Linked DNA regions of Homo sapiens: regions 1 and 3 are each linked to region 2. Evidence: promoter capture Hi-C in 16 types of primary human blood cells and fetal thymus (Javierre and others, 2016). All regions are on one chromosome and are shown on one strand. The core of a region is centred on a gene start or on the middle of the fragment in contact, and the rest is flanking DNA. Distances in the headings are between cores, read along the strand shown. Region 1 has its middle 29 kb from the start of CCN6. Region 2 holds the start of FYN (FYN proto-oncogene, Src family tyrosine kinase). Region 3 overlaps CCN6 (cellular communication network factor 6).

Region 1 (2,726 bases), core at 182-2,681, 150 kb before region 2:
ACCAAAAGCCTGGAGAGAGGCCTCGAACAGATCTTTCCCTAGCATCTTCACGGGGAGCACATCCCTGCCGAGACTGTGATTTCGACTTCTGGCCTCCAGAACTGTAAGACAATACATTTCTGTTGTTTAGGCCACCCAATTTGTAGTACATTGTTATGGCAGCCCTAGATGACCTGTGGCAAATTAACCTCTTTGTGCTTCGGTTTCATTTTTTAAAAATGATATTAGTAATGGTCCCTACTTCATGGAGTTGTTATGAGAATTAAATTAATTAATACTTACATAGTGCTTAGATCAGTCCTTGGCACAGAAGACCAATGATGTCTTATAATGTTCAAAATTCTCTCCTATTCGATGTGACAGTGATGGGAGTAGATGTCCCAAGTTCTGACATAATAAGTCCTAATTTACAACCCATCGTTGTGTTGGGACATTTCATAATTTATCTTCAGTGCAGAGCATGGATACACAAAAGCACTCAGGTGGCCAGCAAGAGCAATGAATGTGAGGTGGCTTTGCAATTACTTGGATTCACTAGATACCGAGCAACTTCCCCATGCATGGTGCAGAGCTGTGGCACTCACACGGCCAGGTGTGACCTATGGGGAAAAGTATTTTATGTTATTTTATTGTTTCCTAATACTGAAACTTCAAAAGCAAAATGATTCTAGATTTTCATCACTTTCTCTTGAGCATTTCTAGCGTTCCTGTAACTTACACAACCTGGGAAATTCAAAAGAGCAGGAAAACTTTTAAGGGAAATAAATAAGAATGAAGGACTGAAACAGCTAATGGGAGAGTGACTGAGGCCAAAGAAAATTCAAGAATTATTATTATTTTTTTCATTTTAAACAAAGGATCCTCTGCTTAACCAACACGGCTCTCTCTTAGCTGTAGGCCATCAGTGAATCTTAATTAGTTAAAAGGTTTGTGGGTTCCACGGGTCTTCTTGGATAAGAGGATGAATATCTCTCTTTTCCCGGCCAAAAGCACCACTAGAAATCCATTCAGTCATTCGAAAGTATTTATTGAACATCTATCATGTGCTAGGTACAGTTTTAGACATTGGGAATATGACAATAGATAAAATTAACAAAAGTCCATATCTTCATGGAACTTATACTCCAGTAAGACAGAAAGATGAACAACCAAGTAAATAAGTCTATATATAGTATGTCAGAGAGTTATAAATGCTATAAAGAAAGTCAAAGCATGGATATGTTTGGGGTGGGGTATTTACTAGGGATGCAATACTAGATAAGGTGGCCAGGGAGTCCTCACTGAGAAGGTGACATTTGAATAAAGATCCGAAAGAGGTGAAGGAGTGAGCCATCAGATATCTGGGAGGTGAGCAGAGGACGCAGCAAGTGCAAAGGCCCTGAGGCAGAAGTGTGCTTAGAATATTGAAGGAACAGAACAGGCCAGTGTGGCTGAAATGGAGTGAGAAAGGGTATGAGATGGAGTTGAGGGAGGTACTAGGGGCCAAGTCACAGAGGGCCTTGAAATCACAGTAACAACTGTGGCTTCTGCTTTGAGTGCAACAGGGAGGCATAAGAAAGATCGTTGGCTGCCATGCGGTCTCTTCTAGACTGTGTCTGAGGCAAAGGAGGATGCAGGGAGACAAGTTAGGAGGCTGTTGCAATAATTCAAACAAGAGGTGACAGTGGCTCAGTAGCAATGTTGATTCTGAATATATTTTCAAAGTAGAGCAAATAAGATTCACTAAGTAGGACGTGAAGTATGAAATAAAAAGAAGAGTTATGGATGATTCTAGGGTTTTTGACCTGAACAACTAAAAGAATAGAATTTTCTTTTCTCTGAGACAGGGAGGACAAGGAGATGAGCAGATTTGCAGGCAGTTCAGCTCTGGATATGTAGGGTTTGAGATGCCTATTGAATATTGCATTTGTTTTCTAGGGCTGCTATAAAAAATTACCAGAAACTTGGTGGCTTCAAACAATAAAAACATTATCCCAGAGTTCTAAAGACCAGGAGTTCTAAATCTGTTTCACTGGGCTGAAATCGAGGTATTGGCAGGACCACGCTCCCTCCCGGGGCAGTGGGATGAATCTGTTCCTTGCTTCTTCCAGCTTCTGGTGGTTGCCAGCATTCCTTGGCTTGTGGCTGCATCACTTCAGTCTCTGCCTCTGTTGTCACATTGCTTTCTCCTCTTCAGTATGTCAAATCTCCCTGTACCTCCCTCTTGTAAGGATACATGTGATTGCATTTAGGGTCCACCCAGAAAAACTGGGATAATCCCTCCACTTCAAGATCCTTAATGTAATCACATTAGCTCTTCGACATGTAAGGTGACATATAAAGGTTGCAGGGATTAGGGCATGAATATCTTTTGGAGAGAGTCATGATTCAGCCTACCACAGATATCCAAGTGGCAATGCTGCATAAGCAATTCCCTATATAAGTCTGGATTTCAGGAAGCGGTACAAGCTGAAGGCCTAAATCTATAACTTATCAGTATATAGGTGGCATTTAATGTCATAAGCCTGGAACACCTCAGAAGTGAGTATAGAAAAATAAGATGTCCCCTCAAAAAATTAAAAATAGAATTAGCGTTTGATCCAGTAATCCTACTTCTGGGTGTACATCCAAAGAAATTGAAGTCTGAATCTCAAAGACATGTCTGCACTTCCATGTTCACTGCAGCATTATTCACAATAGCTAAGACATGGAAGCCACCTAAATGTCCATTGACAGATGAATGAATA
Region 2 (2,769 bases), core at 190-2,689:
CCTAGTCCTAGCTATGGTTCCATTTCTTGGGATTATGGAATTTCCAGACACAATTTAAACATGGTTTAATTTGTCATTTTGTTTAAGGAAAAGGAAAAAAATCCAGTAACCTCTGTATACTGTCACCTTGAGTTAGTTACTTAACTTTTCTTTTCCTCAGTTTCCTCCTCCATAGGATGCAGATCATTTAATAAATGTTAGCAACTTTTCTTAAAAAGTAGTGTGTACAAAAAGAAAAAAGTCAGCAAAAGGGACAGATTTTTTTAAACTACAGTAAAAACAAGTAGTGGGCCGGAAAGGCAATATTATAGATTTTGAGCACAGAAGCAGAAGCTGATTCACTTATAATTTCTTAGAACATTAGATTTGCTGAGGGGGAAGGTAGGGTTCTTGCCAAAATCATTAAGGAGAGCGATTCTGAGTATGCCTTAAAGCAGAACTTTCAGTAAACAGGAATTACCTATAAAGAAAATCAGGAAGCCAAAGTGTTTCTTTTTATGAAGTTACATCCTGCCATAGAAAAGCTGGATAGGAAATAAAGACCGATGCACTCCCAACTGTATACTAAACCGGCAATTATTTCATCAAGGGAAATATGAGCAAAAGCTCAGATTCAGTGAAGGGGAAAAAAACATGAGAAGTTTGAATGTTATGAGAAACCAAAGACAACCAATGACTACAATTAAACGAGGTTTTTTGGGGGTGGGGCGGGGAATGTACGAACAAATCTCTGTCATTTCAGGTTCCTTAGTCGCCGCTTGGCCCCTCCCCCTATTTCAGTAATACTTCCTCCAGACTTTTGCTAGAAAAAAAATATAAATGAGTGTCCGCAGAAATAGGGGACTGATAAAATGATCCTAATCTCCTTCTCCTCCTCATTGTTATTTGTTGTGCGTTTCCACGTTTCAGGACAGGATTCTACTTTGCTCCGTACTCTTTTCAGTTTGATCAAAGAAAACGCTGCTATCACCGCCCAATTTTCCATTTCATCCTCTCACCCTCAAATGAAAAGACACCAGAAAGGCAAGATAGCCCTGTCTCGAGGCAGTTTCCCATGGTTTTGGGGGAATGGCAGGTGCCAATCTGCAGCAGCAGCTGCAACCTTCCGCAAAGCGGAAACTGCAGTTCACACTCTCCGCTCTTTCTCCCGCCCTACTCCGCCACCTCACAACTCCACACAATCCTTAAAAACACACAGACCTCCTCCTCCAACCTCGCATTTTCTTGCACACCCTGCACCGCACGCACCCTGGGATGCCCGCTGCCACAGTAACGCTCAACCCACTCGGCGGCCCCACCTACTGCCGTCCCGCCCACGCCCCAGGCGCCAATGGTTGCGGCTCGCAGCTCCCAAGGGGCTCTTTGATAGGGCAGCCGGGCCTGTCACTCTCGAGGCGCGCCCCGCCCCCTCCTCGCTCCCCTCCGGAGCTGGAGGGGCAGAGCATCAGCAAGAGTAGCAGCGAGCAGCCGCGCTGGTGGCGGCGGCGCGTCGTTGCAGTTGCGCCATCTGTCAGGAGCGGAGCCGGCGAGGAGGGGGCTGCCGCGGGCGAGGAGGAGGGGTCGCCGCGAGCCGAAGGCCTTCGAGACCCGCCCGCCGCCCGGCGGCGAGAGTAGAGGCGAGGTTGTTGTGCGAGCGGCGCGTCCTCTCCCGCCCGGGCGCGCCGCGCTTCTCCCAGCGCACCGAGGACCGCCCGGGCGCACACAAAGCCGCCGCCCGCGCCGCACCGCCCGGCGGCCGCCGCCCGCGCCAGGGAGGGATTCGGCCGCCGGGCCGGGGACACCCCGGCGCCGCCCCCTCGGTGCTCTCGGAAGGCCCACCGGCTCCCGGGCCCGCCGGGGACCCCCCGGAGCCGCCTCGGCCGCGCCGGAGGAGGGCGGGGAGAGGACCATGTGAGTGGGCTCCGGAGCCTCAGCGCCGCGCAGGTAAGCAGGCGGCGGGGATGCGTCGCGGGAGGCCTCGGGGATGCTGCGGAGAAGCCCGGCCGCCGGCGCCCCCGCGCACGCCGCCCCCGCCGCAGGGCCCGGTGCTGCGGTCCCTTGGCCGCCAGGGCGCTCCGCGGGGCTGCCGGGGAGTCGGTGCTTGGGGTCTTCCCGCGGTTGCACCGGAGGACACCCCTGCGGGGTGCGGCCCCGAGGCAGCGCGGGGATGGGGACCCCATTTCCTCGCCCGCAAGCGGGCGCCGGGTGAAAATGGGAATTGGCTTGGGGGCGAGGCTGGCCCAGACTCCGCCCCCGCCCTCCTTTTGGGGCCCCCCGCGGGGACTGGGGCTGTGTGTGTTGTTTTAATGTCAGGGATGATGTAATCACTTAATAATTGATGCCCCGTGCTGCTTCCCTCCCCACCCAACCCCTGCCCCACTCCTCCACCTCTCGGCCTCCTCCCTCGGCGGCGGTCGCCTTCTCCAACCCATCCTCCTGCCTATTTCTGGCACCTCCCTTGCACTTCCCCCATCCTCCCCTTCACTCTTCCTGTGCCACCACCCACCCACCCTTCCCCTTTCCCCTGTGCTGGAGCCTTCCCTCCTCTTCCTCTGTCCCCCACCCCTCTGCTCCCTCCAGCTCTTTTCTCCTTCCTTTCCGGCTCCCTCGCTGGATTTCCTCTCTACTTCCCTAGATCCATGGCTGTTTTTGTTTGGGCTCCTCCCCTCTGTTATCTCTGCGGCCACAGGCGGAGGGGACTGGGCCAGAAGGAGGCCACCGAGCTTGGGCCCAGCAGAGATGTGCTGGGACTCACTGGGAAGAGGGATAATAAAATCACCCTTCTTGCCC
Region 3 (2,700 bases), core at 73-2,572, 190 kb before region 2:
AATTTACTGACAAAACTGGAGTTGCTGAGGATGTTCCTTTCATAGAGTTAGTTCTTAAATATCTAAACTCATTTCTCTGCTTATAGTTGCCTTTATTAAATATCCACTTAATAAAAGTGAACTCATGAGTTGTTAACATATTCAAGTATTCTGCATTTCCATGGCACCTCTCACTAAGCTCTAAACTTTAAGAAAAAGGCATTCTTGATTTCTGGATGAGAACACAGAGATGTGAACAAGAACCAGACTTCGATGTTGCCCCTTTTGAGTCCCTCCTCCTCTATACTTTATTTGCTGGTGGTTCTGAAACTCCTGTTCCCAAAATATGCTGATGCTTAAATAAAATGCTAACTTAGAGCAGACCAGAATACAAGGTTTATAAGTATACTTAAGCTGTTTGAAATGGCCAGATACACAAGATGAGTAATGAAGGATCACACTTCATTTTTCTGAGAACATAGATACATGGGTAACCTACTTAAAAATGCCTGTGTGTGTGCATGTGTGTGTTTGTGTGTGTGTGTGTGTGCGTGCGTGTGTGTGTGCGTGTGTGTTTGTGTGTGTGTGCGTGTGTGTGTTTGTGTGTGTGTGTTTACAGAGAGATTAACAATTGAGCTTCAATTTCAGAGTGAGGGAAAGGACTTCCTACGAGATTTCTATTTTTAGAAATAATATTTACAAGTTCAAAATATGTGTCAGTTCTTAAATATTTTTCAGCAGTAGCCTCCCATTTCTGCCTGTATCACATAGAAATGTTACCTTTTAAAATTTGGGGAAGTGAATGGTCAAACTTCTTGCCCATAATAGAACAATAAAAATAAGTTGTTCTAGGGTACATGTGAACAATATTTGGTCAATTTTCCTGAGAAGAGGTTAGAAATAAGCAGAGGTGTAAGATTTTAGTAGAGCTTCCTGACCTAGTAGATCTTTTAAAAATGTTTTTAAATGTTTTACCAGAAAATTCTAAAACATTATAAAATTTCCTTTGCAGATATTTATCCCTGTCTGAGGCAAAGATTAAGTAAAATGATACACTCAAACTATATCTCACTCTGACCACCAATCAACAAGTACTTACTGAGTACCTATGATACGTAAAAGGAACATGAAGGAATACCACCAAGGTCATACGTGAAAAATAGCTCTACTTCTGAGCACCTGGCATTGTTTTGTAGCTTGTTGAAAGCTGCTGTAGTAATGGTTCCAGGCTACAGTTTGACTGATCAGACTTCTTTCCACCTTTAGCTCCAGAGCAGTGACTGCCAGCCAGCTTTGGTATGAACAGAGGTGTGCATCCAATGGCCCCACTCACACAGAGGCAGCTGAACAAGGGGTTGGGCTGAAACACTTGGCCATTATGATAATGTACCTGGTTGAACTCGCACCCAACAGCTACAAGGTCTGAAAAGAGAAAAGAGCAAAATTGCCAAAGAAGCCATGATCTGTGATAGTCTAGACCTCCAATTATAAACCTAAGAAGAAACGGATCATCTCCTGTATGAAGTATAGCTCTCAACCTCTTAGGTTCCATTTGGAACCTCCTTCACAGGACATCTGTAGAAAGGTTTCTAAAGTGAGGCATTTTTATTATATTGCAGGCTATAAACCCCACATGGTCACTTCCAGAATTAAGACCAAGTAAAGACCCTGTAAAATCACCATAAGTATAGTGGTTGATAATAAATCTGAGACAGGTTAATGCCTAGTGAGACAGGTTTTCTCAGACATCCAACAATAGGCTAGGATATAGTCTTAGGAAGACAGGATAAGTGAATGTCTGAAGAAACTATACGTTAGTTAACTACAGAACCGCAAGGTACTGATGGTTTTTGTTAAGAGATTGCAGGAGAGTTTCCCTTCCTCTGATGGGTATTCTTGACTTTCTGGATAGGCTGTTCCCCAAGTGTGGTCCTCTAATCCCTTGGCAGTACCTGAGACACTTTTAGGGGATCTGCAAGGTCAAAACTCTTTTCCAAATACTAAGATGTGGCTGGCCTTTTTCACTGTGTTGGTATTTGCACCGGTGCTACAAAAGCAACTGTGGCTAAAACTGAACTGCTGGTGCCTTGGCATGAATCAAACTGTAGAGGTAATCTTGTATTTTTCCTTGCCAGGTACTTATACTTTAAAAGGGGTGGGGGAAGTTTTACCTAAGAATGTCCTTGATGGCACAGCAAAAAGTATTAATTTTATTAAATCTTAATCATCAAATACTGGTCTCTTTAATATTCTACGTGACAAAATAGGAAATATACATAGAATATTTTAGTGCAACAGCTGTCTTGAAACTTCAGCAAACTGCTCTCTCAGGGAAACTTAAGGAACTATGTCATTGGTAAAGTTGTGAGCTGAGCTAACCACTTTTTTTAGTGGGAATTTTACTTGAAGAAATGACTGATGATAAACTGGTTATTCAGACTTGTGTATTTTGGAAATTTTTTTTGAAGATGAGCAAACTGAGCCTGTCACTTCAAGGAAAACAACTGTGACAGCATTTTTTGCCAATGCGAGAATTCAAGATTTCAAGGAAAAATTAGAATTTTGGAAAACTTGTATCCATCACTGAAAACTTTATATTTATCCAATATGTAGACTTTTCTGGTGAGGATGATATTAATGTGATTTTTTTTAGATATTACATAATTAAGTGTATCAATATTTTGAACATCTCTACAACACAGTAAACATATTTTCCAAATG

What was found. Contacts are between HindIII fragments. The CHiCAGO score rates a contact against its expected background, and 5 or more counts as called.
Region 1: a contact is called between a fragment that was not itself captured here and the fragment with the promoter of FYN in region 2, in 6 of 17 cell types (total CD8 T cells, activated CD4 T cells, naive CD8 T cells and 3 more). The highest score is 8.2, in total CD8 T cells.
Region 3: a fragment that was not itself captured here is called in contact with the fragment with the promoter of FYN in region 2 in 2 of 17 cell types (total CD8 T cells and non-activated CD4 T cells); the score reaches 5.8 in total CD8 T cells.

The regions. Positions count from the first base shown.
Region 1 is chr6:112,023,331-112,026,056 of GRCh38, reverse strand. No RefSeq gene overlaps it. Among named protein-coding and RNA genes, the nearest start is that of CCN6, 29 kb to the left of the region's middle. The HindIII fragment of the contact is 8,615 bases long and covers 1-2,726 here.
Region 2 is chr6:111,872,122-111,874,890 of GRCh38, reverse strand. It overlaps FYN (FYN proto-oncogene, Src family tyrosine kinase), which reads left to right and starts at 1,439. Exons shown (of 14, transcript NM_002037.5): 1 at 1,439-1,923. LOC102724646 (a long non-coding RNA gene) reads right to left here and starts at 1,439. Exons shown (of 3, transcript NR_168402.1): 1 at 1,201-1,439. RefSeq lists silencers at 1,310-1,399, 1,520-1,769, 1,920-2,319 and an enhancer at 1,368-1,867. The HindIII fragment of the contact is 15,284 bases long and covers 1-2,769 here.
Region 3 is chr6:112,063,456-112,066,155 of GRCh38, reverse strand. CCN6 (cellular communication network factor 6) reads right to left here. Exons shown (of 5, transcript NM_198239.2): 3 at 1,159-1,401. Among named protein-coding and RNA genes, the nearest start is that of CCN6, 11 kb to the right of the region's middle. The HindIII fragment of the contact is 4,008 bases long and covers 1-2,700 here.